Regions from separate parts of the Homo sapiens genome. Here all the other regions are linked to region 1. Evidence: promoter capture Hi-C in 16 types of primary human blood cells and fetal thymus (Javierre and others, 2016). All regions are on one chromosome and are shown on one strand. The core of a region is centred on a gene start or on the middle of the fragment in contact, and the rest is flanking DNA. Distances in the headings are between cores, read along the strand shown. Region 1 holds the start of TERT (telomerase reverse transcriptase). Region 2 has its middle 57 kb from the start of MIR4277. Region 3 has its middle 36 kb from the start of LPCAT1. Region 4 overlaps TRIP13 (thyroid hormone receptor interactor 13). Region 5 holds the start of ZDHHC11 (zDHHC palmitoyltransferase 11). Region 6 has its middle 28 kb from the start of MIR4277. Region 7 has its middle 11 kb from the start of MIR4277.

Region 1 (3,533 bases), core at 1,034-3,533:
TCAATGTCTCAGTGTGTGCTGAAACATGTAGAAATTAAAGTCCATCCCTCCTACTCTACTGGGATTGAGCCCCTTCCCTATCCCCCCCCAGGGGCAGAGGAGTTCCTCTCACTCCTGTGGAGGAAGGAATGATACTTTGTTATTTTTCACTGCTGGTACTGAATCCACTGTTTCATTTGTTGGTTTGTTTGTTTTGTTTTGAGAGGCAGTTTCACTCTTGTTGCTCAGGCTGGAGGGAGTGCAATGGCGCGATCTTGGCTTACTGCAGCCTCTGCCTCCCAGGTTCAAGTGATTCTCCTGCTTCCGCCTCCCATTTGGCTGGGATTACAGGCACCCGCCACCATGCCCAGCTAATTTTTTGTATTTTTAGTAGAGACGGGGGTGGGGGTGGGGTTCACCATGTTGGCCAGGCTGGTCTCGAACTTCTGACCTCAGATGATCCACCTGCCTCTGCCTCCTAAAGTGCTGGGATTACAGGTGTGAGCCACCATGCCCAGCTCAGAATTTACTCTGTTTAGAAACATCTGGGTCTGAGGTAGGAAGCTCACCCCACTCAAGTGTTGTGGTGTTTTAAGCCAATGATAGAATTTTTTTATTGTTGTTAGAACACTCTTGATGTTTTACACTGTGATGACTAAGACATCATCAGCTTTTCAAAGACACACTAACTGCACCCATAATACTGGGGTGTCTTCTGGGTATCAGCGATCTTCATTGAATGCCGGGAGGCGTTTCCTCGCCATGCACATGGTGTTAATTACTCCAGCATAATCTTCTGCTTCCATTTCTTCTCTTCCCTCTTTTAAAATTGTGTTTTCTATGTTGGCTTCTCTGCAGAGAACCAGTGTAAGCTACAACTTAACTTTTGTTGGAACAAATTTTCCAAACCGCCCCTTTGCCCTAGTGGCAGAGACAATTCACAAACACAGCCCTTTAAAAAGGCTTAGGGATCACTAAGGGGATTTCTAGAAGAGCGACCTGTAATCCTAAGTATTTACAAGACGAGGCTAACCTCCAGCGAGCGTGACAGCCCAGGGAGGGTGCGAGGCCTGTTCAAATGCTAGCTCCATAAATAAAGCAATTTCCTCCGGCAGTTTCTGAAAGTAGGAAAGGTTACATTTAAGGTTGCGTTTGTTAGCATTTCAGTGTTTGCCGACCTCAGCTACAGCATCCCTGCAAGGCCTCGGGAGACCCAGAAGTTTCTCGCCCCTTAGATCCAAACTTGAGCAACCCGGAGTCTGGATTCCTGGGAAGTCCTCAGCTGTCCTGCGGTTGTGCCGGGGCCCCAGGTCTGGAGGGGACCAGTGGCCGTGTGGCTTCTACTGCTGGGCTGGAAGTCGGGCCTCCTAGCTCTGCAGTCCGAGGCTTGGAGCCAGGTGCCTGGACCCCGAGGTTGCCCTCCACCCTGTGCGGGCGGGATGTGACCAGATGTTGGCCTCATCTGCCAGACAGAGTGCCGGGGCCCAGGGTCAAGGCCGTTGTGGCTGGTGTGAGGCGCCCGGTGCGCGGCCAGCAGGAGCGCCTGGCTCCATTTCCCACCCTTTCTCGACGGGACCGCCCCGGTGGGTGATTAACAGATTTGGGGTGGTTTGCTCATGGTGGGGACCCCTCGCCGCCTGAGAACCTGCAAAGAGAAATGACGGGCCTGTGTCAAGGAGCCCAAGTCGCGGGGAAGTGTTGCAGGGAGGCACTCCGGGAGGTCCCGCGTGCCCGTCCAGGGAGCAATGCGTCCTCGGGTTCGTCCCCAGCCGCGTCTACGCGCCTCCGTCCTCCCCTTCACGTCCGGCATTCGTGGTGCCCGGAGCCCGACGCCCCGCGTCCGGACCTGGAGGCAGCCCTGGGTCTCCGGATCAGGCCAGCGGCCAAAGGGTCGCCGCACGCACCTGTTCCCAGGGCCTCCACATCATGGCCCCTCCCTCGGGTTACCCCACAGCCTAGGCCGATTCGACCTCTCTCCGCTGGGGCCCTCGCTGGCGTCCCTGCACCCTGGGAGCGCGAGCGGCGCGCGGGCGGGGAAGCGCGGCCCAGACCCCCGGGTCCGCCCGGAGCAGCTGCGCTGTCGGGGCCAGGCCGGGCTCCCAGTGGATTCGCGGGCACAGACGCCCAGGACCGCGCTTCCCACGTGGCGGAGGGACTGGGGACCCGGGCACCCGTCCTGCCCCTTCACCTTCCAGCTCCGCCTCCTCCGCGCGGACCCCGCCCCGTCCCGACCCCTCCCGGGTCCCCGGCCCAGCCCCCTCCGGGCCCTCCCAGCCCCTCCCCTTCCTTTCCGCGGCCCCGCCCTCTCCTCGCGGCGCGAGTTTCAGGCAGCGCTGCGTCCTGCTGCGCACGTGGGAAGCCCTGGCCCCGGCCACCCCCGCGATGCCGCGCGCTCCCCGCTGCCGAGCCGTGCGCTCCCTGCTGCGCAGCCACTACCGCGAGGTGCTGCCGCTGGCCACGTTCGTGCGGCGCCTGGGGCCCCAGGGCTGGCGGCTGGTGCAGCGCGGGGACCCGGCGGCTTTCCGCGCGCTGGTGGCCCAGTGCCTGGTGTGCGTGCCCTGGGACGCACGGCCGCCCCCCGCCGCCCCCTCCTTCCGCCAGGTGGGCCTCCCCGGGGTCGGCGTCCGGCTGGGGTTGAGGGCGGCCGGGGGGAACCAGCGACATGCGGAGAGCAGCGCAGGCGACTCAGGGCGCTTCCCCCGCAGGTGTCCTGCCTGAAGGAGCTGGTGGCCCGAGTGCTGCAGAGGCTGTGCGAGCGCGGCGCGAAGAACGTGCTGGCCTTCGGCTTCGCGCTGCTGGACGGGGCCCGCGGGGGCCCCCCCGAGGCCTTCACCACCAGCGTGCGCAGCTACCTGCCCAACACGGTGACCGACGCACTGCGGGGGAGCGGGGCGTGGGGGCTGCTGCTGCGCCGCGTGGGCGACGACGTGCTGGTTCACCTGCTGGCACGCTGCGCGCTCTTTGTGCTGGTGGCTCCCAGCTGCGCCTACCAGGTGTGCGGGCCGCCGCTGTACCAGCTCGGCGCTGCCACTCAGGCCCGGCCCCCGCCACACGCTAGTGGACCCCGAAGGCGTCTGGGATGCGAACGGGCCTGGAACCATAGCGTCAGGGAGGCCGGGGTCCCCCTGGGCCTGCCAGCCCCGGGTGCGAGGAGGCGCGGGGGCAGTGCCAGCCGAAGTCTGCCGTTGCCCAAGAGGCCCAGGCGTGGCGCTGCCCCTGAGCCGGAGCGGACGCCCGTTGGGCAGGGGTCCTGGGCCCACCCGGGCAGGACGCGTGGACCGAGTGACCGTGGTTTCTGTGTGGTGTCACCTGCCAGACCCGCCGAAGAAGCCACCTCTTTGGAGGGTGCGCTCTCTGGCACGCGCCACTCCCACCCATCCGTGGGCCGCCAGCACCACGCGGGCCCCCCATCCACATCGCGGCCACCACGTCCCTGGGACACGCCTTGTCCCCCGGTGTACGCCGAGACCAAGCACTTCCTCTACTCCTCAGGCGACAAGGAGCAGCTGCGGCCCTCCTTCCTACTCAGCTCTCTGAGGCCCAGCCTGACTGGC
Region 2 (3,449 bases), core at 871-3,370, 360 kb before region 1:
CCCTGGACAGGGGACCCCACCCCACACGTAAGGCCACACGCCATCGGCTGACCTGGCACTCCGAGAGGACCCAGCTCCCAGTCTCCCCAGCTAGCTCTCAAAACACGAACGTCAAGTTTTCATCGGGAAACCGGCGCTGTCAGTGGCTTCCACCACCAAGCTAGCTCTGCCTGGCTGTCACCCAAATGCCAAGGGCCTGTTTTGGAAAGCATCAACCACAAGTTCCTTGTGAGGCCTCGGCGTGGCCTGCCAGGGTCCCTCCCCTCACAGAGAGACACCCGGCCCAAGCTGGCTCTTCCCCACCGCCCAAGCCTCAGCCACGCCCCATCTTCCTCGTGTCCCCCCAGCAAGTCACCAGGCTGGTGGGGGCCCAAGGAAGCAGGAGCAGAGTCTACTCTGATCGTGTTCATTCCTAAGTCCCTCCCTCCTGCCCCAACCTAAAACCCACTTGTGGGGAAGGAGGGCCAGTCCAGCCTCCAACAGGGAGGGCACTCCTGATATCCTCCCCTGGACCCTTTGCCCTCAGGGCCCCCCACACTGGGTGTGACATAGGGTGGCCCCTGGGAGCACTTGGCTGCTGTCCTGCACAGGGCACCTGGGAGACCCACAGCATCCTCCCTGCACCCGGCCCTCGCCCCACCTCACAGCATCCTGCGAGGCTGGCCAGATCCCATGGCCACACGGCCAGATCATGGATTTCCAAGCCCTGGCTCTCTCCTACATCCTGTTACACTCATGTGGTCCCTGGAGTGGGTTAGGGACAGCATGGCCAGCCTGGCCCTCTGGAGAAGCACGGAACTGTGGTGGGAGCAGGCAGAGGGACAGGCCGCCATGGATTGTTCCAGGACCCCCCATGGCGAGGGACCCCATTCTCCCTGAGAATTTATCTGTTCTTGTCCCACTCTCAGGCTCCTCCTAAGAATGGGCCCTGCCCTTCCCTTGCCCAGCACCTCCCCCACAGCCTCTGCTTGTGCACCCACCCTGCCCCACATTCGGGGGCCTGAGGAGCCCTCACCTTGAGACCCCTCCTCTCGAAAGGTCCCTGACCACCCACCCACTCCAGGCACCCCCTTCTTCCCCAGGGAACTTCCACCCTGTCTGGGCCATTGCTCCAGACCCTCCATCCCCTCATCAACCTTCGGGGCAGGAGATCAAAGAAAAACCAGGCTGCCTTGTTCTCAGCAGGAGCTCAGCAGGAGCCCAGGGCCTGGCAGAGGCTCTTCGGGTCACAGGATGAGCCAAGGAAGGGAAGAGTGACACTGTCCCAGGCCCCGAGGACCCAGGCCCCATGCCCCCATAGGCCCTGCCCCACAGGCCGGTCCTCCCCCAGCCCCACCCCTCCCCAGACCTCATCCCTCCCCAGCCTTACCCTCCCCAGCCCTGACATCTCCAGGCCACCCCTCCCCAGGCATCATCCCTCCCCAGCCTTGCCCTACCCCTGCCCTGCCCTCTGTGGCCCCCCCCTCCCCAGCCCCACCTTCCCCAGGCCTCACCCCTCCCCAGGCCTCATCCCTCCCCCAGCCCCACCCCTCCCCAGCCCTACCTTCTTCCAGCCCCACCTTCCCCAGGCCTCACCCCTCCCCATCCCCCACTCTTCCCAGGCCCTACCCTCCCCAGGCCTCACCCCTCCCCATCCCCCACTCTTCCCAGGCCCTACCCTCCCCAGGCCTCACCCCTCCCCAGGCCTCATCCCTCCCCAGCCCCGCCCTCCCCTGACCCCACTCTCCCCAGCCCCACCCTTTTCTGGCCCTGCCCTCCCCAGGACCCACCCCAGCCCTCACGGTGCGTCTGTCCAGCGAAGCTGTCTGGATCCCATGGCTGCACTGCCAGGTGGTGAGCTTCCAAGCCCTGGGCTCCCAGGACTCTGTCACTTTAGGGATCCCCTCCCACCCACCTCCAAACTCCTCATACCCCCCACCACCCTCACCCGAAGCCCCTGCTTCCCCACACCCGGGATGAACACCCAGTAATTAAGATGTTCAAGTATTTTCTTTCTTTCCATTTCTTTCTATTTACACACCTTCAAATTAAAATTGGAATAAAGTCGTCTGTATAACTTAATGCTCTCACTTAGCACGACCCTCTCATGAGTGTTTTCTCATGTTACTGGAAGTTCTTCAGCAGCACTGTCTACCTGTAGCGGCTGCCGAACACGACAGGATTTGCATTTGCCAGAATCGATTGAACTACTTCCATGAGGTTGGAAAGACGGACATTTAGGCCCTTTATTTCTTTATTTTATTTTTACCAACATTTTCTAAATGCTGCAAAATGAACACCTGGACCGTTTTGTTGTTTACTTGTTTACTCCTCCACATAGATCAGGGGTCTGCAAACGTGCTCTGCAGACAGCTAGAGAGTCAGTATTGTGCTGGGGGCGGGGACGGGGAAGATGGTCTCCACCGCACACTCTTCCTTATTCGCTAATCGTTTTCACAGTAACGGACCATTCCGAGCTCTTGGCCGTGCAGCAACAGGCCACAGAGCGGATTTTGACCACTTGCCAGTTTATCACCCTAAAGGCAGCATTGCTAGGTCAGCCACATTGGAAGGCTTCTGGTGCATATTACCAAACCCCTCTCCAGAACAAAATTATGCTGATACTTTTGCTACTAGTATCTGAAAACGCATATTCCTCTGAATATTTGCCAACATTGACTATTACTATTTTTAAGCAAATTGCTAAATTCATCGTTAAAACTCAAATTGCATCTTCCTGGGTTGTTGTGATTCTATTTCCACATCTAACTTCATTCGATTGCGCCTTCCTTCTTCCCGTAAGACCTCTAGACACTGAGGACATCAGATGTCAAAACCGTCACAGCGTGCTTCCGGTTTTTGTTGGATTTTGTTTGTTTTGTTATGGTGTTTTTTGAAGTGTCACAGGGTTTAATGTCTTTGTAATCAAATCTAAAATTTTTTGAAAAGTGTTTATTGATACATAATAATTGTACATATTTACAGGGCAGTTGTGATATTTTGATTGTGCACACAGCATGTAGTGATCAAATCAGGGTATGTAGTATATCCATCACTTGGAACATCTACTCTTTCTTTCTGTTGGGAAGATTCCAGTTCTTCTAGCTATTTTGAAATATACAGCGGACCAGGTGCAGTGGCTCACACCTGTAATCCCAGCGCTTTAGGAGGCCAAGGCAGGTGGATCACCTGAGGTCAGGAGTTCGAGACCAGCCTGGCCAACATGGCAAAACCCTGTCTCTACTGAAAACACAAAAATTAGCCAGGCATGGTGGCACACACCTGTAATCCCAGCTACTCGGGAGGCTGACAGGAGAATCGTTTGAACCCAGGAGGCGGAGGTTGCAGTGAGCCGAGATCATGCCTCCACTGCACTCCAGCCTGGAGTGAGACTCTGTCAAAAAGAAATAAAGAAAGTAAGAAAGAGAGAAAGAGAGAGAGAGAGAAAGAAAAAGAAAGAGAGAGAGAGA
Region 3 (3,617 bases), core at 864-3,363, 260 kb before region 1:
ACACCAGGGAAGATGAGGGGCCTCTCTCACCTCGTCCTCCTCCTCTTCCTCCTCTGCCAGGTCCAGGTCTGTCCTCCGCCTTCCCCTTATCCCCACATCACTGCAACCTCACCCTTCCCTCCACATTCTTATTATCCAAGAGAGCAAGTAAAGAACAGTATTTAGTTGAGTTTATTTTTCACTGAGATAAATTTGCATGTAACAAAACTAAGAATAAATCTAATTAGTGATAATCCATCAAGCAGGCTAAAAGATGTAATCTGGATTAGGGAACATTGTATCTTTGTCTGCATCGTTGAAACAGACGACTTTCATGCATATTTATCAATGAGAAAACGAGGCACCAATGTTTTTGCGATGCCTGCTCTAGTGACTGTACAAGAGTCATTTACAATTAACACAGTTACTGAAAATGGAATGTTTGTGAATGGGATTTCTTTTACATAAATGAAGATGTCTTAAAATCCTGTTACCCTGAAAGTTGACTCACTGAATTCTCATTTCATGGATCCAGGAAAGGCTATCCCAGTGTAGCAGGACGAGCCGCAGACAAAATTCCTCAGACACCAGCTTAAAGAAGGAAGAGGTTTGGCTGGGTGCAGTGGCTCATGTCTGTAATCCCAGCACTTTGGGAGGCTGAGATGGGTGGATCACGAGGTCAGGGCATCAAGACCGTCCTGGCTAACATGGTGAAACCCCCTTTCTACTAAAAATACAAAATAGCTGGGCGTGGTGGTGGGCACCTGTAGTCCCAGCTGCTTGGGAGGCTGAGGCAGGAGAATGATGTGAACCTGGGAGATGGAGCTTGCAGTAAGCCGAGATCATGCCACTGCACTCCAGCCTGGGTGACAGATCAAGACTCTGTCTCAAAAAAAAAAAAAAAGAAGGAAGTGGTTTATTCAGTCGGGAGCATCAGCAGACTTGCGTCTTAGGAGCCGAGCTCCCTGAAAAAGAAATTATTGGCCTTTCTAAAGGCTTACACTCTAAGGGGTCCACGTGAAAGGGTCGTGACAAATCGAGCAAGCGTGGGGAACGTGACTGGGGGCTGCATGCATCAGCTAACAGAACAGAAAGTTTCGCGATGCTTTTTCATACAACGTCTGGAATTTACAGATAACACAAGTAGTTTAGGTCAGGGGTTGATGTTATTATTATTTTTTAATTCCTAGGGCTGGGTGGTGGTGCCAAGGTCATCTAGCTATTTATCTTACTTTTGTTTCTTTCCAACTCTTTGCTTTCTCTCTTTCCTCCTGTCTTGTGAACTAGGCAAGGTGGGCAGCAGGAGTAGTAGTGGTCTCCTTCCTTACTAGGTGGACCCCTTCTGAACTTCAACAGTGGCGACTGGTGGTTTCTGTAATGAAATTTCAATTTGACCCTCATCTGAGAAGAGACAGTATCTGGTAACACAAAGCTCAGGAACTGCACACGATCTCTCACGAAAGCTTATGTCCAGTTTCCATCTGGTGCCAGCCCACTCGAAGGGCAGCTAAATGTCACTAGGCAGGTCCTGCTGGCAATAAGTGTGACATAAGATGCAGATTCAGTGAAGCCAGGCCCATCGTACGACAAAAGCTTGTGAGGGTTGGTTTCTCTGTCAGATTCCAGGTTCATAGATAGGATTCAGTGAAGCCAGGCCCATCGTACGACGAAAGCTTGTGAGGGTTGGTTTCTCTGTCAGATTCCAGATTCATAGATAGAAAAGGAGGGGACATTTATGTCTTCTGCCATTATAAAGAGTCATTCTTATATGTTTTAAAATATTGGCTATGTATATAATTTATAGATCTACATGTAGCTCTGTATAATCAATATTGCATACCTAATATATACTATATAGAGATATTATGTAAGTATTATATAAATTATATAGATCTATGTATTTAAAAATGTAGATCTATAGAGAGCTATACAGGTGTACTTTGTCTTGTGGTGTTTTGCTTGATTTTGCTCCATGGATGTTACTTTTTTTACAAACTGAAGGTTTGTGGCAACCGGCGTGGAGCAATTCCACGGGCGCAGTTTTCCCAGCAGCGTGTGCCACCTTCGTGGCTCTGGGTCACATTTTGGTGATTCTTGCCACAGTTCAAACTTCTTCATTAGTATTATATACGCAGTGGCAATCTGTGATCAGGGATCTTCAATGTTACCGACGTAATTGTTTTGGGTGCTATGAACTGCACCCATATAAGACACAAACTTAATAAATGTTTGGTGTGTTCTAGCTGCCCCTGCAGTCAGCCGTTCCCCCACCTCTCTCCCTCTTCCCAATCATTCCTGTTCCCTGACACACAACAATATTGAAATTGGCCCGGTTACTAAACCTTCCATGGCCTCAGAGTGCTCAAAGGAAGAGCCACGACGCCTCACTTTAAATCAAAACCCAGAAATGATTCAGCTTAGCAAGGAAGGCAGGTTGAAAGCTGCGATAGGCTGAAAGCTAAGCGAGGCCTGCACCAGTGAGACAAGTAATGAAGACAAAGGAAAAGTTCTTAAGGGAGATCACAAGTGCTGTTCTAGAGAGTGCATGAATGATGGGAAGTGAACCCGCCTTGTTGCTAATACAGAGAAAGCTTTTGTTTTCTGGATAGACAGTCAAAACAGCAACACCATTCCCTTAAGCCAAACCCTAGTCCAGAGCAGGGCCCTAACTTTCTTCAATTCTGTGAAGGCTGAGACAGGCGAGGAACCTGCAGAGGAAGAGTGGAAGCTGGCAGAGGTGGGTTCATGAGGTTTAAGGAAAGAAGCCGTCTCCATAACATAAAAACGCAAGGTGACGCGGCAGGTGCTGATGGAGAAGCTGCAGCAAGTTACCTTCCGCGTCCAGAAGATCTGGCTAAGATCACTGATGAAGGTGGTTGCGCTTAACAACAGATTTTCAATGTAGATAGAACAGCCTTCTATTGGAAGAACACCATCTAGGACTTTCCTACCTAGAGAGGCCAAGTCAGTGCCTGGCTTCAAAGCTTCAAAGACAGGCTGACGCTCTTGTTAGGAGCTGGTGCAGTGGTGACTTTCATTGGAAGCCGATGCTTATGGATCATTCTGAACATCCCAGGGCCCCTAAAAACCATGCTCAGTCTACCCTGCCTTGCTCTATAGATGCAACGAGAAAACCTGGATGTCAGCATGTCTGTTTACAGCACGGTTTACTGACTATGTTAAGCCCACTGTTGAGAACTACCGCTCAGAAAAAAAGATTCCTTTCAAAATATTACTGCTCACCGACAATGCACCTGGTCACCCAAGAGCTCTGATAGAAATGAACAAGGAGATGAATCTTGTTTCCATGCCTGCTAACTCAACACCCATTCCACAGCCCAAGGACTCATTTCAACTTTCAAGCCTTATTATTTAAGGAATACATTTTTTAAGGCTGTATCTGCCATAGTTAGTGATTCCTCTGATGGATTTGGGAAAAGTAAATTGTAAACCTTCTGGAAAGGATTCACTATTCTAGATGCCACTAAGAACATTCATGATTCATGGGAGGAGGTCAAAGTGTCAGCATGAACAGGCGTTTGGAAGAGGTTCATTCCAATCCTCATGGATGACTTTCAGGGATTCCAGCCTTCAGTGAAGGAAGTCACTGCAGATGTAATAGGAATAGATGTGAGACC
Region 4 (3,597 bases), core at 34-2,533, 390 kb after region 1:
GAATATTAATCATTAATTTGTAGCAATTACTCTTTATTCCAATATTATAATAATCCTTGCTCTACAATCATAACCTAGGAAAAACCAGGCCATACAGAGATAGGAGCTGAGGGGACATAGTGAGAAGTGACTAGAAGACAAGAGTGCGAGCCTTCTGTTATGCCTGGACAGGGCCACCAGAGGGCTCCTTGGTCTAGCAGTAATGCCAGCGTCTGGGAAGAAGCCCGCTGCCAAGCTGACCGTGGTCTAATGGTAGCGTCAGTGTCAAGGAAAAACACCTGCTACTTAGCAGACCGGGAAAGGGAGTCTCCCTTTCCCCCGGGGAGTTTAGAGAAGACTCTACCCCTCCACCTCTTGTGGAGGGCCTGACATTAGTCAGACCCGCCCGCAGTCATCCAGAGGCCTGTCTCCCTGTGATGCTGTGCTTCAGTGGTCATGCTCCTAGTCCGCCTTCATGTTCCATCCTGTACACCTGGCTCTGCCTTTTAGCTAGCAGTAGCAAATTAGTGAAAGTACTAAAAGTCTCTGATATGCAGAAATAATGGTGTAAGCCGTCTCTCTGTTTCTCTTCTCTCTCTCTGCCTCAGCTGCCAGGCAGGGAAGGGTCCCCTGTCCAGTGGACACGTGACCCACGTGACCTTACCTATCAGTGGAGATGGCTCACACTCCTTACCCTGCCCCTTTGTCTTGTATCCAATATATATCAGCGCAGCCTGGCATTCGGGGCCACTACCGGTCTCCGCGTCTTGGTGGTAGTGGTCCCCCAGGCCCAGCTGTCTTTTATCTCTTTGTCTTGTGTCTTTATTTCTACACTCTCTCGTCTTTGCACATGGGGAGAAAACTCACCAACCCTGTGGGGCTGGACCCTACAAAAGATGCCTCACAGAAGCTGCGAGGTGACCAATATGGAAAAAGGAAAGCATCTAACAGAAAATGGAGACATACAACTCTAATTTTCTGCAGGTATTTTCAAGAATTAAAGAGGAAATACGTAACTGGTTCCAAACAGAAACAACTTATTTCACTAATTAAAACACCTGCTGCTTACTCTGACTGTGCTATGAGGGCAGTATGCGGGGCCTGTCTGCTCTTTAAAAGAACATTGTGTTTTAAGGTCACTTTGTCACGCAATCTTAACTGACTTAAAGAAGCCAAGTACCCTTCAAGCTTCTATTTAACACTTGGCTACAGTTTCATACTCTCGAGTCCACTCAATTCCCGTGTCCCCATTCTACCCGGTGATATTGACAACAAAACAAAACAAAACCAAACAACAAACCATCAGTATTTTCTCCTGAGAAGAACCAGACAGAATTTCTTTAAAATATGGCTTTTTCAGTTTACTCCTCACAAAGTAAAGCTCTGAGTACTACAAGCCTAATTTATAAGTTAAGCTTTATCATAGGAATGTCTGTAGGAAAAAATAGTCTACATAAGGTTTAGTATTATCCACGTTTGGGGCATCTGAGGATGTCTTGGAATGTGGCCCCCCACAGGAAGACTTGATTAAGTGCCGAGTAATCAATGCCCCAGGGGCCGCGCGCGGTGGCTCAAGCCTGTAATCCCAGCACTTTGGGAGGCTGAGGCGGGCGGATCACCTGAGGTCAGGAGTTTGAGACCAGCCTGGTCAACGTGGTGAAACCCCGTCTCTACTAAAAATACAAAACTTAGCTGGGTGTGGTGGCGCATGCCTGTAATCCCAGCTACTCGGGAGGCTGAGGTAGGAGAGTTGCTGGAACCTGGGAGGAACCCAGGAAGTGGAGGTTGCAGTGAGCCGAGATCGGGCCACTGCACTCCAGCCTGGTCGACAGCGAGACTCTGTCTCAAAAACAAAAACAAACAAACAAACAAAAAATGTCCCAAGTGTCATGAGCTGGATCTGCTTCACAGAGAGGGGACATTCTAGGACAGCTGTGGCTCCTTCAGAAAACAAAGAGCCGTAACTCCTTGCAGAAGGACGAAGGTACAAGTAAAGGCTAAATTTCATGCCACTTATCTGGTCAAATAAAAGCCTGCATAATTTACCGTGGAGCAGCACCACCCGGTTCCAGGTGATGAGGTTGCTGTTGACGTTCTTGTCTGAAAACAGTAAAGTTGTCATCACATAATCGAGGAGCTGATAGAGAAAAAGAAAAGAGCTTGACAAAGATACCAACAAGGCAAAGGTCCCCAAGAAATGTGCCCTCCCCCAGGGCTTAATCCTACATGAGAAGAGGGAGCACAGGGAGCGAGGCCGCCTCCTAAGAGATCATCACCTCCAAACGCTTTCATTTCAGAAGAGAAGGTGCTTCCAAAAGGGAAAAGGAAAAACACTGGCTATTACTATTATAAATATAAGAAGAGCAACAAAATGATCACTTTTATTTAAAGTGCCAACATTAAACAAAACCACTAAGGGGTTTGTTTATCAAGTAATGAGTAAGCTCCTTCCCTAGAATGATACAGCAGTTATTATTCGCAAAATAACAACAGCCACAATGCAGAGGAGCAGTCTGAGTGATAGTCTCAGACTATCAATGCAGAGGACAGCTGAGTGATAGTCTTCTAGCCAGCTGCTGGCATGGGAAAGACCCTTCCCGTTGAAGAGGGTGCAGGGGTTAAGACACACCGGCCTTTCCTTTGTGCGGACCAGGCTTGCTCACCTTCCCTCCTCCCATCTCCAGAGGGTTTAATTCTCTAAGTTGCCTTCACGTTCTCCCTTTCCCTCTTCTCCCTCAGGGAGCTCCTCAGAGACCAGCTCTACTCTGGAGCAATACTAGAGGATAGATGTCCAGGACAAGGGCTGCCAGCAGACAGGGGCTCCCAAAAACCCATCTGCATCAAGTTGCTCAGGGGTGTTGGAGAGCAAAACAGTAATGGTTCCTCTTCAAATAACAGGGCATTCTGGGAAAAGGCACAGCAACTTACATGGGATTTGACTTCCACATCGTATACCAAGCTGTCCCAAAGCCCATGGAATTCAGCTGTGACAGAATTAAACAAAGACCTGATTTCAGGAAGGCAAGCAATTACAGCCACCCCCAGTCAGTCTCCCCTGAGCCTAAGCCTGAGCTTCCCATTGTGCTGCTCCAGGCAAGACTATGATTCTGATTACAGGAAAGTATAAATTCTGCAAATTTTTCTTCAAATTTTGATTTTTATTAAAATCAAAGATGCAAAATAAATGCCAGTCACATGTAACTTCTGGCAGACAACTGGATGGAGTCAAAGAATTACACTTTACGTCTCATTATCACGCACAATTGTCTTTTAAAAAAACTTTAACTTCCCATCCTTCTTTAAGGTATTGTTGTCATTTATTTTCCATTGACGTATAACATAATCCCCACAATATGTTTTCATTAAACTATCATTTTTTGGTGGTGAACAACACATTATAAAATTTATGATCATAGCCACTTACAATTGTCTTTTATCCATATGCTTCAGCACAAGTCCAGATGCCAAATCCACCTGTTTCCCCACACACTGACTGAATGAAGCCCTGGGCTTGGCCTGCTAGAGCCCATCCAAATCCACCTGTTTCCCCACACACTGACTGAATGAAGCCCTGGGCTTGGCCTGCCAGAGCCCATCCAAATCCACCTGTTTCCCCAC
Region 5 (3,530 bases), core at 584-3,083, 440 kb after region 1:
GGGTCTGTCCCCGCTGCTTGCTGTCCTCCGTGGGGTCTCTTCCCCCGGCTCGCTGTCCTCCATGGGGTCTGTCCCCCGGTTTGCTGTCCTCTGTGGGGTCTGTCCCCGCTGCTCGCTGTCCTCCGTGTGGTCTGTCCCCCCGGCTCGCTGTCCTCCGTGGGGTCTGTCCCCCTTGCTCACTGTCCTCTGTGGAGTCTGTACCTCCAGCTTACTGTCCTCCGTGGCGTCTGTCCCCGCTGCTCATTGTCCTCCGTGGGGTCTGTCCCCCTGGCTCACTGTCCTCTGTGGAGTCTGTCCCCGCTGCTCGTTGTCCTCTGTGGGGTCTGTCTCCCTGGCTTGCTCACATTTTCTCTAATTTGGATGTATTACTTTTTCCAATCATCCTTTCCAGCTCTTGGTGCACAGTTTCGACCTGAAGTCTTCAGTCTTCTCAAAGTTCTTCAGTGTTTTCTTTTTTCTCTCACAGACTCTCCACCTTTCTGTTCTGAAATCCTGACAGATGAACGTGTTGTCTCCAGGCTCAAGGCTCAAGGCCGCTGAGCGATTCCCCTCTTCTCCTCTCTAAGATCTGTGGTCCTTCCTGGATTTGATATTCCAGGTTTTACCAATGTGACTTGGCGACATCATTTCTGTTTGTTGGCACTTTCATTTGGGTTTTGTTTTTAACTGGGAATTGTGTTTTTAATGTACAGGGTTGTCTTTCTGTGTTTCTATTTCCTTCCTTGGTAACTTTGACTTTTCTTTCTTTCTTTTTTTTTTTTTTGAGATGGAGTCTCCCTCTGTTGCCCAGGCTGGAATGCAGTGGTGCAATCTTGGCTCACTGCAGCCTCGACCTCCCAGGTTCAAACGATTCTCATGCCTCAGCCTCCCGAGTAGCTGGGATTAGAGGCATGTGCCACCATGCCCTGCTAATCTTTGTATTTTTAGTAGAGACAGGGTTTCGCCGTGTTGCCCAGGCTGGTCTGGAACTCCTGACCTCAGGTGATAGGCACGCCTCGGCTTCCCACAGTGCTGGGATTACAGGCGTGAGCCCCCGCGCCCGGCCAAAGAACCATGGTCCTGTTTCATAACTGTGAGTCTCTCGGGTCTCCCAGAGACATTCTTGTGTGACTCAAGCCCCAGGGTCCTGTGGCCCCGCATCCGCCTGGTGTCACATTTAGAGGACCAGGGAGGAGCCACCAAAGGCAGCGCAGAGCCACTGTATCATGGACGTTCACGACTGCAAGAACGAAGAATTGTTAACTATTTCTCAATGTCTCTCTTCTCAAAGAAATACATTTAATATCAACTTCATTTTCTGAAGGTTTTTTCCCAAAGAGACAACAAGGACTTTGAGCGAGGCATAACGTGGCGAAGCTTCCTAACCCTCCTCTGTAGAGACCGCCCAGCCCCTCAAGATCAACCCCCCACCCCGTAGCGGCCGTTGAGTGTCTTTCACTGCCGCTCTGTGACACCACGTCCCTCCCACCCCTGCCGCCCTCCCCACCTGACTGGCCAGGAGCAGCCGCAGCGTGTTCAGAACCTCCCAGCCACTGTCCACCCGGGCGGAGACCCCAGCCCCGCGTGGCTGGACGGGCTTCCCTGTCCTGTGGAAGGGGAGACACACAGGACCCTGTGAAGTGAGCTCTCGGGTCCTGCTCCTCTGGGAAGCTCAGAGAAGCCTCTCAGGGAGGATCTGGCAGGTTTCAGTGTTGCACCAGTGAGTAACGGCTCACGAGCTCTTCAGGCATTGCCTCAGTTTCTCACAGGCGCAGCCCTCTGCTCAGTGTGGCCTCTTTCTGACGTGGGTTTTCTTCTTGCACCTGGGGAGTCCTGGGTGGGCCTGTGTATTCGTGAACGGGTTGTGGGACCTGTCGCTGTGTGGGGGCTGTCGAGCACTCCCCAGAACGTAACAAATCCTCAGGGGAACTGATGGGCGGTCGCGCGGGCACTGGGTCCTCCACACCCTGGAGAGCCGTTTTCCGTTGCCACTCGGCTCTGGCCGGGGTCACATTCTGCAGCATGTCTGTTCATTCCCCTGGGCGGGGCCCTGCACCGACTCCAGCCCAGCCCCTGCTCCCTCTGCGGGGAACGTGGCCCCAGGCAGTGCTGGGCCATTGGCTGTCAGTGCTGGTCCTGGCGGCTGCATTCCCAGTCCCCTTGGTCTCTGTGACAGTGGGCGGGGCCGGCCCTCCCAGGATCTGACGGCGCAGGTCCTCCCCTTCTGTGTCCTGCAGATGGACACCCGCTCCGGGAGCCAGTGTTCCGTCACCCCAGAAGCCATACTCAATAATGAAAAGCTGGTCTTGCCGCCCCGCATCTCCAGAGTGAACGGCTGGTCGTTACCCCTGCACTACTTCCAGGTGGTGACCTGGGCTGTCTTCGTGGGCCTTTCCTCGGCCACCTTCGGGATCTTCATTCCCTTCCTGCCTCACGCGTGGAAATACATTGCCTACGTGGTATCCTTTTCATCGTGGCATGGTCTAAGCGGGAGGGGTTCCTGGAGGAACTTGCGATGGACCTGGCTGTGGGGTCTGGGCCATGGCTGCCCGGTGGCACCAGTCACCTGCCCTGGGCCAGACTATGTCCCCTGAGCCTGCAGGTGGGCCCAGTGGCCACTCATGCTCTGTGCAGCCCCTGCTTAGGGTCAGGACAGGACAGCGTTGGCTGAGGGGGCTCCGGAGAGGGAATCTGTCAGGAGGGACAGCAGCCCCCTGGCGTGGCGCAGGACCCGCCCTGCTGGCAGCCTTCCGCTAAAATCCCTGCGCAGCATTTTGCACATGGCCAGCACCTTTCTCCTTGCCCCTGGTGCCAAGGAGGAACAGCGCCATGCCCCGCAGGTCGGCAGCCTGCGTTTCCATGCCAAGCTTAGGCCACACTGCGAGGGCCTCTGGGCTGCCCTGCGGAGATGGCTGTCAACCCTGAACTCCTGGCTAGAAGGCGGTCCAGGGGCCAGGCAGGGTGACTGGAGGGCCCCGCACTCCACCCCTTCTATTTGGTTGCCATGGAGAGTCTGTGTTTGTCCCAGGGTGAGAGGAGGAGGGAGCCAGGATCTGAGGGCGGGAGCTGACGTCCCAGGCACGGGGAGCCCAGCTTCTCCTGGCTCCAGGGGACAAGGATCCTCTCCCCAGTGCCCCCGCAGCCAGGCTCTGAGCCCAGAGGGCCCAAGAAAGAGGCCCAGGGTCCCTGAGTGAGTCTGGGGTCCTCGAGAGAGTCTGGAGTCCCCGAGAGAGTCCGGAGGGGCCCTGAGGGAGTCTGAGGGGGGTTTCCCTGAGCTATTCTCGGGGAGAGGGTCCCTGAGTGAGCTGTCTGGGGTCTACAGGGAGCGGGTAGGTTGTGCAGCTCCCTCGCTCCTCCCCCTGCTCCTCCTGTCTGAGGCTGTCTTCTCTCCCAGTGCTCAGGGGTCTCTGGTATGAAAGAACCCAGGCTCCTCCAGGGCCTTTGGGGCTGCATCCGGCTGTGTTTATACCTGGGATGTCCCTCCTGTGGCCCTGCTCTGTCCCTCAAGCTGTAAAGGGTTTTGGGGTCACTGTGCTTGGCTGGGCTGACTG
Region 6 (3,351 bases), core at 199-2,698, 390 kb before region 1:
GATGGAGTTTTGATCTATCTTTTTCTTTTTCTACCTTGAAGAAATGCCTTTAATGATTTTTTTTTTTTTTTTTTTTTTGAGACGGAGTCTCGCTCTGTCGCCCAGGCTGGAGTGCAGTGGCGGGATCTCGGCTCACTGCAAGCTCCGCCTCCCGGGTTCACGCCATTCTCCTGCCTCAGCCTCCCAAGTAGCTGGGACTACAGGCGCCCGCCACTACGCCCGGCTAATTTTTTTTGTATTTTTAGTAGAGACGGGGTTTCACCGTTTTAGCCGGGATGGTCTCGATCTCCTGACCTCGTGATCCGCCCGCCTCGGCCTCCCAAAGTGCTGGGATTACAGGCGTGAGCCACCGCGCCCCGCCTTAATGATTTTTGAATTACCAGTTCTGCTGGTAGTAAAAGCTGGTATCAGCTGGAATTCACTTTATTTTGCCTTATTTCTATAAGGAAATTTTAACTAGATATAGAATTCTGAATTGACTTTGTGAAAAAAAAAATCATTACTTTGGGAGGGATCTTCAAGATGGCTCCAAAGGAACACTAGAGGCCGCTGACACTCACCCCATCCACAAAGAAGGACCAAAGCAGAGAGCAGATAGCCACGTGTCAAGTGGAGCATCTAGGAGGGACACTAGAGACCAGGAGGGACACGGCAGGGGAAATCTGAGGCACGGAAGGAGAGGGTAGCAAGTCACTTCCCTGGCTGGGACTGGCAAGGAGCCTGGAAAGTGTCCGTGTGAGATTTCCCACGCTCCACATCCCGACCACAGACCCTGCAATCCGAGTCACAGGAGAGCCCCTCAGCCTCATGGGCACTGAGTCTAGTACAGAGAGCTGCCTGGAGTCCATGTGACACCACTGTTCCTGAGAGGAAGTTCATGCAGGGTCCCACATACTCCCAGGGACCCAAGCAGCTGCAGCACAGCACTGTTTTGAGAGCCCAGCTGCCACCAGGCTGCATTTTGACCTGGGGCCCAGCAGCCCCTGCCTCTTCACATCTCCAGATCCCCAGTGACACCCTGGGTCCACTCACCCTGTCTATCACCATGCACATGTGTCCAGACCATCAAGAGGCCTGAAAAAAGTCCCAGGACACTAGCCACTGGCACCCAAGCAAACTGCCTGGAGGTCCAAGAATCAGCCCACCTGGACCCACTAACACTAGTGTTCACCTGTATCATCCAGGGGCTGAAAGACAGACATGACTGGCCTGCTGCCACCAGGCTATACTTATCGGATAAAACAGACTTGATATACTTTGGATTTTTTTCCCCACCCAAATCTTATGTTGAAATGTAATCCCCAATGTTGGAGTTAAGGCCTGGTGGGAGATGTCTGGATCATGAAGGCAGATTCCTCATAAATGGCTTGGGCCATCTCCTTGGTGATAAGTGAGTTCTTGCTCTGAGTTCACATGAGATACAATCATTTAGAAGTGTGTGGCACCTCCCTGACCCCCGGCTGTCTCTCTCTTGCTCCTGGTCTAGCCATGTGATGTGCCTGCTCCCTGTCATCTCCCACCATGATTGTAAGCATCCTGAGGTCTCCTCTAGAAGCCAAGCAGATGCCAGCACCAGGCTTCCTGTATAGTCTGCAGAATCATGAACCAATTAAACCTCTTTTCTTTATGAATTACCCTGTCTCAGGTATTTCTTTCTTTATAGTAATGCAACAATGACCTAATAAAACACTTTAAGTCAAAAACAGTCAAAGAAGACAAAGAAGGTCATGACATAATTTAAAAGGGTTCAATTCAGCCAGAGGATATAACAATTCTAAATATATATGCACCCAACACGGGAACACCCAGATACATAAAGCAAACGTTGTATTTAGAGGGAGAGATAGACTATAATACAATAATATTTGAGGACTTCGACACTCCACTCCTGGCATTAGACAGATCATTGAGACAGAAAATCAACAAAGAAATGTTGGATTAAAACTGCATATTAGATGAAATGGACCTAAGCAACATTTACAGAATGTTTCATTCAATGGCTAGAGAATACACATTCTTCTTATCAGCACATGGGCCATTCTCCAGTATAGACCATAAGTTAGGCCACAAAACAAGTCTCAACAAATTTTTAAAAATCAAAATTATATCAAGTATCTTCTTAGACTGCAACATAATAAAACTGGAAATCAATAACAAGAAGGACTTTGGAAACAGTACAAATATGTGGATATTAAACAATATGTTTCTGAATGCCTATTGGGTCAATGAAGAAATTAAGAAAGAAATCAAAGAATTTCTTAAAACAAATGTAAATGGAAACACAGCACACCAAAACCTATGTGACACAGCAAAATCAGTGCTAAAGGTAAGTTTACAACAATAAACACTTACATCACAAAAGCAGAAAGATTTCAAATAGACAACCCAATGATAAACCTCAAAGAACTAAAAAAGCAATAACAAACCAAATCCAAAATTACTTAATCATAGATAAAAAAGAATAACAAAGATCAGCACAGACCTAAACAAAATACAGACTAAAAAAAACAAAAATCAATGAAAAGAGTTTTTTAAAGAAGATAAACAAAATTAATTAACTGCTAGCCAGATTAACCAAGAAAAAAGAAAGAAGACCCAAATAAACAAAATCTGAAACAAAAAGGAGACATTAAAATTAATACCACAGAAATAAAAAAGACCATCAGAGGCTACTAGGAACAATTATATTTTAATCAATGGGAAACCTAGAAGAAATCGATGACATACAACATACAAAGATTGAACCAATAAGAAACAGAATACCTGAACAGACCAATAATGAGTAACAAGATTGAATTAGTACTAAAAAGTCTCCCAACAAAGAAAAGCCTGGGACAGGATGGCTTTACTGCCGAACTTTACCAAACTTAAATTTAAAAAACAAACACAAATCTTCTCAAACTATTCCAAAAAATTGCAGAGGAAGAAATTCTTTCTAACTTATTCTATGCGGCCAGCATTAGCCCCATACCACACCAGACAAAGACACAACAGAAAACAAAGCTACAGGCCAATATCCCTGATAAACATAGATGCAAAAATTTTCAACAAAACTCAGGCAAACTGAATCCAAAAATGCATCAAAAGATAATACACTGTAATCAATTGGGTTTTGTCCCAGAAATGCAAGGATGGCTCAACACATACAAATCAATAAACATGGTGAATATCACATCAACAGAATAAAGGACAAAAATCACATGATCAATAGATGCAGAAAAGTATTTGACAAAATTTAACATCCTTTCATGATAACAACTCTCAACAAATTAGGCATAGAAGACATCAACATAATAAAGGCCATAAATGACAAGCCAAGAGCTAACATCATGCTGAATGGGGAAAAGCTGA
Region 7 (3,331 bases), core at 365-2,864, 400 kb before region 1:
CATGACCTGTTAAGAACTGGGCAGCACAGCAGGAGGTGAGCTGGGGCGAGTGAGCAAAGCCTCACCTGTGTTTACAGCCACTCCCCATCGCTCACATTACCACCTGAGCTCCACCTCCTGTCAGATCAGCGGCAACATTAGATTCTTATAGGAGCACGAACCCTATTGTGAACTGTGCATGTGAGGGATCTGGGTGGCACGCTCACTGTGAGAATCTACTGCCTGATGATCTGAGGCTACTGCTGGGGAGCTGCTGCAAATGAAGATTAACATTAGCAGAGAGGTCTGACTGCACAGAGACCCTAATAAATCAATTGGTTGCAGACTCATAGCAAAACCCTATTAGTGATTGGCAAGTGACAATTAAGCTGCATCTGGTGGCAGGCTTTAAGTTGGAATCCTACACTTATTTTAGTCCATGTGAGGCCCACCCATTATTTTATTTACCACTTCTGTTCATGCCTCTTTCCCGCACTGCACGCTTGTCTCAGTCACAGTTTTGGTAAGCCCACGAGCTAACCCTAGCCAAAACGAGTAAAAAAGAAACATCACAGGAGGGCTTTGAAAAGGGGGAAAGTCCCAATGGTTAGGCAGCAGAAGACTCTATGACTGCCAATGAGAAGCAAGCTGCATTTAATAGAAAATACCACGAATCCCACTTAAATTGCAGGTTCATTCCAACAGGTGATTCACATTTTCCAAGCCCACTTGCAATGTAATATGTGATGACTATCCAATGAAGCCATGAAACCTTCAAAACTGCTTCGCCATATGAAGACCAAGCACCCTGCGTTAAAAGACCAGCCTTTGGAGTTTTTCAAAAGGAAAAAAGAAAAGTGTGACCACGAAGAACAGAAGCAATGATTGAAGGCCACCACTTCAAATGTGTCTGCACTGAGAGCATCATTCTTACTGGCTAACTGCATTGCTAAAGCTAAGAAGCCCTTTACTGTTGGTGAACAGCTGATCTTGCCTGCGCTAAGGACATTTGTCGTGAACTTTTAGGAGAGGCTGCAGCTCAAAAGGTGGCACGTGTTCCTCTTTTGGCTAGCACCGTACCTAGAGGAATTGAGAAAATTCCAGAGGATATTGAGGCACAATTGTCAGAGACGATTAATGAGTCACCGTGGTACACAAGCCAGGCTGATGAGTCTACTGATGTTGACAGCAAGGCAACAATGCTTGTTGTTGTGAGATCCGTTTTCAGGAGGCTGTGCACGAGGTTATGTTAGGTGCACTTTTGTTGCCAACCAACACCACAGCTGCAGAACTATTCAAGTCTTTCAATGATTATGTATCAGGAAAACTGAACTGGCCATTTTGTGTCAGTGTACACACAGAGGGAGTGGCTGCCATGACTGGATGGCTTTCTGGTTTCACTACTTGTGTCAAAGAGGTCGCTTCTGGATGTAAGTCTATGCACTGTGTCATCCACAGAGAAATGCTGGGTAGCTGGAAAATGTTGCCTCAACTTAATAAAGTTTTGCAGTATGTGATTAAAGTTATCAACCTCATTAAAGTACATGCCCTTAACTCATGTCTGTTCACGCAGCTCTGTGAGGAGACGGATGCAGAGCACACACGTCTTCTCTGAAATACATGTGCTTACAGTGACACATGTGTGACAGGAGTGAGATGGCTCCTCTGATATGCAGAAATGAGGTGGCTTTCTAAAGGTAGATCACTGGCCGAGATTTTGAGTTATGAGAGCCACTCCAGAGATTTCTTTTAGAAAAACAGTCACCACTGGCAACACATTTCAGTGACATAGAATGGGCTACAAATGTTGCTTACTTGTGTGACATATTCAACCAGCAACACAAACCGTCACTTCAGGGAGAGGGACAACTGTGTTCAAGTCAGGAGATAAAGTGGCTGCATTAAAAGTCAGACTGGAATTATGGGTCAATGAGTGAACACTGGGACTTCTGACATGTTTCAAACATTAGCGGAGGTTTTGTTTGGAAAGAGACTGAGCCAGGGCCTTCTTTCCCCCAGCTGGTGCATGATCACCTTTCAGCTTCCAAAAGAGCTTGAGCATTACTTCCCAACTACAAAAGAACCCCGAACTGGGAAGGAATGGATCCGTGACCCATTTGTGAATAAGCCAGGTGAATCGACTTTGTCCTTGCTAGAAGAGGGTCGGCTGCTTGAGATCACAAATAATGGTGGCCTTACAAGTGTGTTTGAGACAACTTCAAATCTCCATATGTTCTGGACTAAAGTCAAGGTGGAATATCCTGAGATTGCCACAAACGCACTGAAAAACCTGCTTCCATGCCCAACATCCTGTCTTTGTGAAGCAGAGTTTTCTGCAGTGACAGCAACCAAAACGAGATTACAGAGTACACCGGACATAAGCAACACACTTTGGGGGTGACTGTCTCCATCACTCCCAGATGGGACCATCGAGTTGCAGGAAAACAAGCTCAGGGCTCCCACTGATTATACGTGATAGTGAGCTGTATAATTATTTCAGTATATAATACAATGTAATAATTACTAGGTTGGTTCAAAAGTAATTGCGGTTTTTGCCATTAAAAGTAATCTCTGGTGCCAAAAAATGTTGGGGACTGCTGCTTTAAATCATGCAGGTGGAATAAAGATGTGGTTATTTAAAAAGTTGAGAAAATTTATCTGCAACATACTTGCCTTACAAGGCATACTAAAGCCACATTTTTCAGCTCAAGGAAAATGTTCATGGGGGAAAGGATGAAAGGAATGAAGAGCACCACAAAGGATAACTGTTAGGGGCAGTGTGAGTGTATGGATTGTTTAAAGTGATCTTCTGGTGTTTGCAACGAACACAGAAGTAAAATATATGACTACAATGGCATTAAAGGAAATGCGAGCGGGGGCACGACAGACCACTCATAAGATCCTTCAACTGCTTGGGAAGTGATAAAAGTATTCGTTTCAGGTAGGTGTTTTGTTTTGTTTTGTTTTTTGTTTTTTTTCCCCCCACAGGGTCTCGCTCTGTCACCCAGGCTGCAGTGCAGTGGCACAATCATGGCTCACTGCAGCCAAAACCTCCCAGGCTCAGGTGATTCTCCTTCTCAGTCGTCTGAGTAGCTGGGACTACAGGTGCCCACCACTATGCTTGGCTTATTTTTCTTAACATCTTTTGTAGAGAACAGGGTCTTACTTTGTTGCCCAGGCTGCTCTCAAATTCCTGGGCTCAGGCAATCCTCCTGCCTTTGCCTCCCAAAGTGCTGGAATTACAGGCGTCAGCCACTGTGCCTGGCCTAAGGTAGGTTTTTATACTTCAACTATGCAAATAATAAACTATAGGGAAATAAAAAATATATAACTATAGTGCCAATAAAGTGGG

The links. The method cuts DNA at HindIII sites, captures the fragments that hold promoters and counts their contacts. A CHiCAGO score of 5 or more calls a contact.
Region 2: a fragment that was not itself captured here is called in contact with the fragment with the promoter of TERT in region 1 in 8 of 17 cell types (M1 macrophages, neutrophils, naive CD8 T cells and 5 more); the score reaches 7.3 in M1 macrophages.
Region 3: a fragment that was not itself captured here is called in contact with the fragment with the promoter of TERT in region 1 in 1 of 17 cell types (total B cells); the score reaches 5.5 in total B cells.
Region 4: a fragment that was not itself captured here is called in contact with the fragment with the promoter of TERT in region 1 in 4 of 17 cell types (fetal thymus, M1 macrophages, non-activated CD4 T cells and 1 more); the score reaches 8.2 in fetal thymus.
Region 5: a contact is called between the fragment with the promoter of ZDHHC11 here and the fragment with the promoter of TERT in region 1, in 2 of 17 cell types (erythroblasts and monocytes). The highest score is 5.3, in erythroblasts.
Region 6: a fragment that was not itself captured here is called in contact with the fragment with the promoter of TERT in region 1 in 1 of 17 cell types (neutrophils); the score reaches 5.2 in neutrophils.
Region 7: a contact is called between a fragment that was not itself captured here and the fragment with the promoter of TERT in region 1, in 2 of 17 cell types (total B cells and neutrophils). The highest score is 6.1, in total B cells.

What each region holds. Positions count from the first base shown.
Region 1 is chr5:1,293,818-1,297,350 of GRCh38, reverse strand. It overlaps TERT (telomerase reverse transcriptase), which reads left to right and starts at 2,283. Exons shown (of 16, transcript NM_198253.3): 1 at 2,283-2,580; 2 at 2,685-3,533. The coding sequence starts at 2,362. RefSeq lists silencers at 1,937-2,026, 2,127-2,196, cis regulatory regions at 2,229-2,237, 2,249-2,257, 2,327-2,359, 2,362-2,718, enhancers at 1,606-2,322, 2,293-2,335 and promoters at 2,032-2,723, 1-2,723. The HindIII fragment of the contact is 13,041 bases long and covers 1-3,533 here.
Region 2 is chr5:1,649,801-1,653,249 of GRCh38, reverse strand. No RefSeq gene overlaps it. Among named protein-coding and RNA genes, the nearest start is that of MIR4277, 57 kb to the left of the region's middle. The HindIII fragment of the contact is 4,657 bases long and covers 1-3,449 here.
Region 3 is chr5:1,557,992-1,561,608 of GRCh38, reverse strand. No RefSeq gene overlaps it. Among named protein-coding and RNA genes, the nearest start is that of LPCAT1, 36 kb to the right of the region's middle. The HindIII fragment of the contact is 918 bases long and covers 1,655-2,572 here.
Region 4 is chr5:899,860-903,456 of GRCh38, reverse strand. It overlaps TRIP13 (thyroid hormone receptor interactor 13), which reads right to left. Exons shown (of 13, transcript NM_004237.4): 4 at 2,908-2,963; 5 at 2,026-2,116. Among named protein-coding and RNA genes, the nearest start is that of TRIP13, 8.8 kb to the right of the region's middle. RefSeq lists a silencer at 69-363. The HindIII fragment of the contact is 227 bases long and covers 1,170-1,396 here.
Region 5 is chr5:849,289-852,818 of GRCh38, reverse strand. It overlaps ZDHHC11 (zDHHC palmitoyltransferase 11), which reads left to right and starts at 1,833. Exons shown (of 13, transcript NM_024786.3): 1 at 1,833-2,438. The coding sequence starts at 2,217. RefSeq lists enhancers at 1,840-2,489, 2,490-3,141. The HindIII fragment of the contact is 1,490 bases long and covers 1,359-2,848 here.
Region 6 is chr5:1,679,371-1,682,721 of GRCh38, reverse strand. No RefSeq gene overlaps it. Among named protein-coding and RNA genes, the nearest start is that of MIR4277, 28 kb to the left of the region's middle. The HindIII fragment of the contact is 6,095 bases long and covers 1-3,351 here.
Region 7 is chr5:1,696,319-1,699,649 of GRCh38, reverse strand. No RefSeq gene overlaps it. Among named protein-coding and RNA genes, the nearest start is that of MIR4277, 11 kb to the left of the region's middle. The HindIII fragment of the contact is 3,672 bases long and covers 1-3,331 here.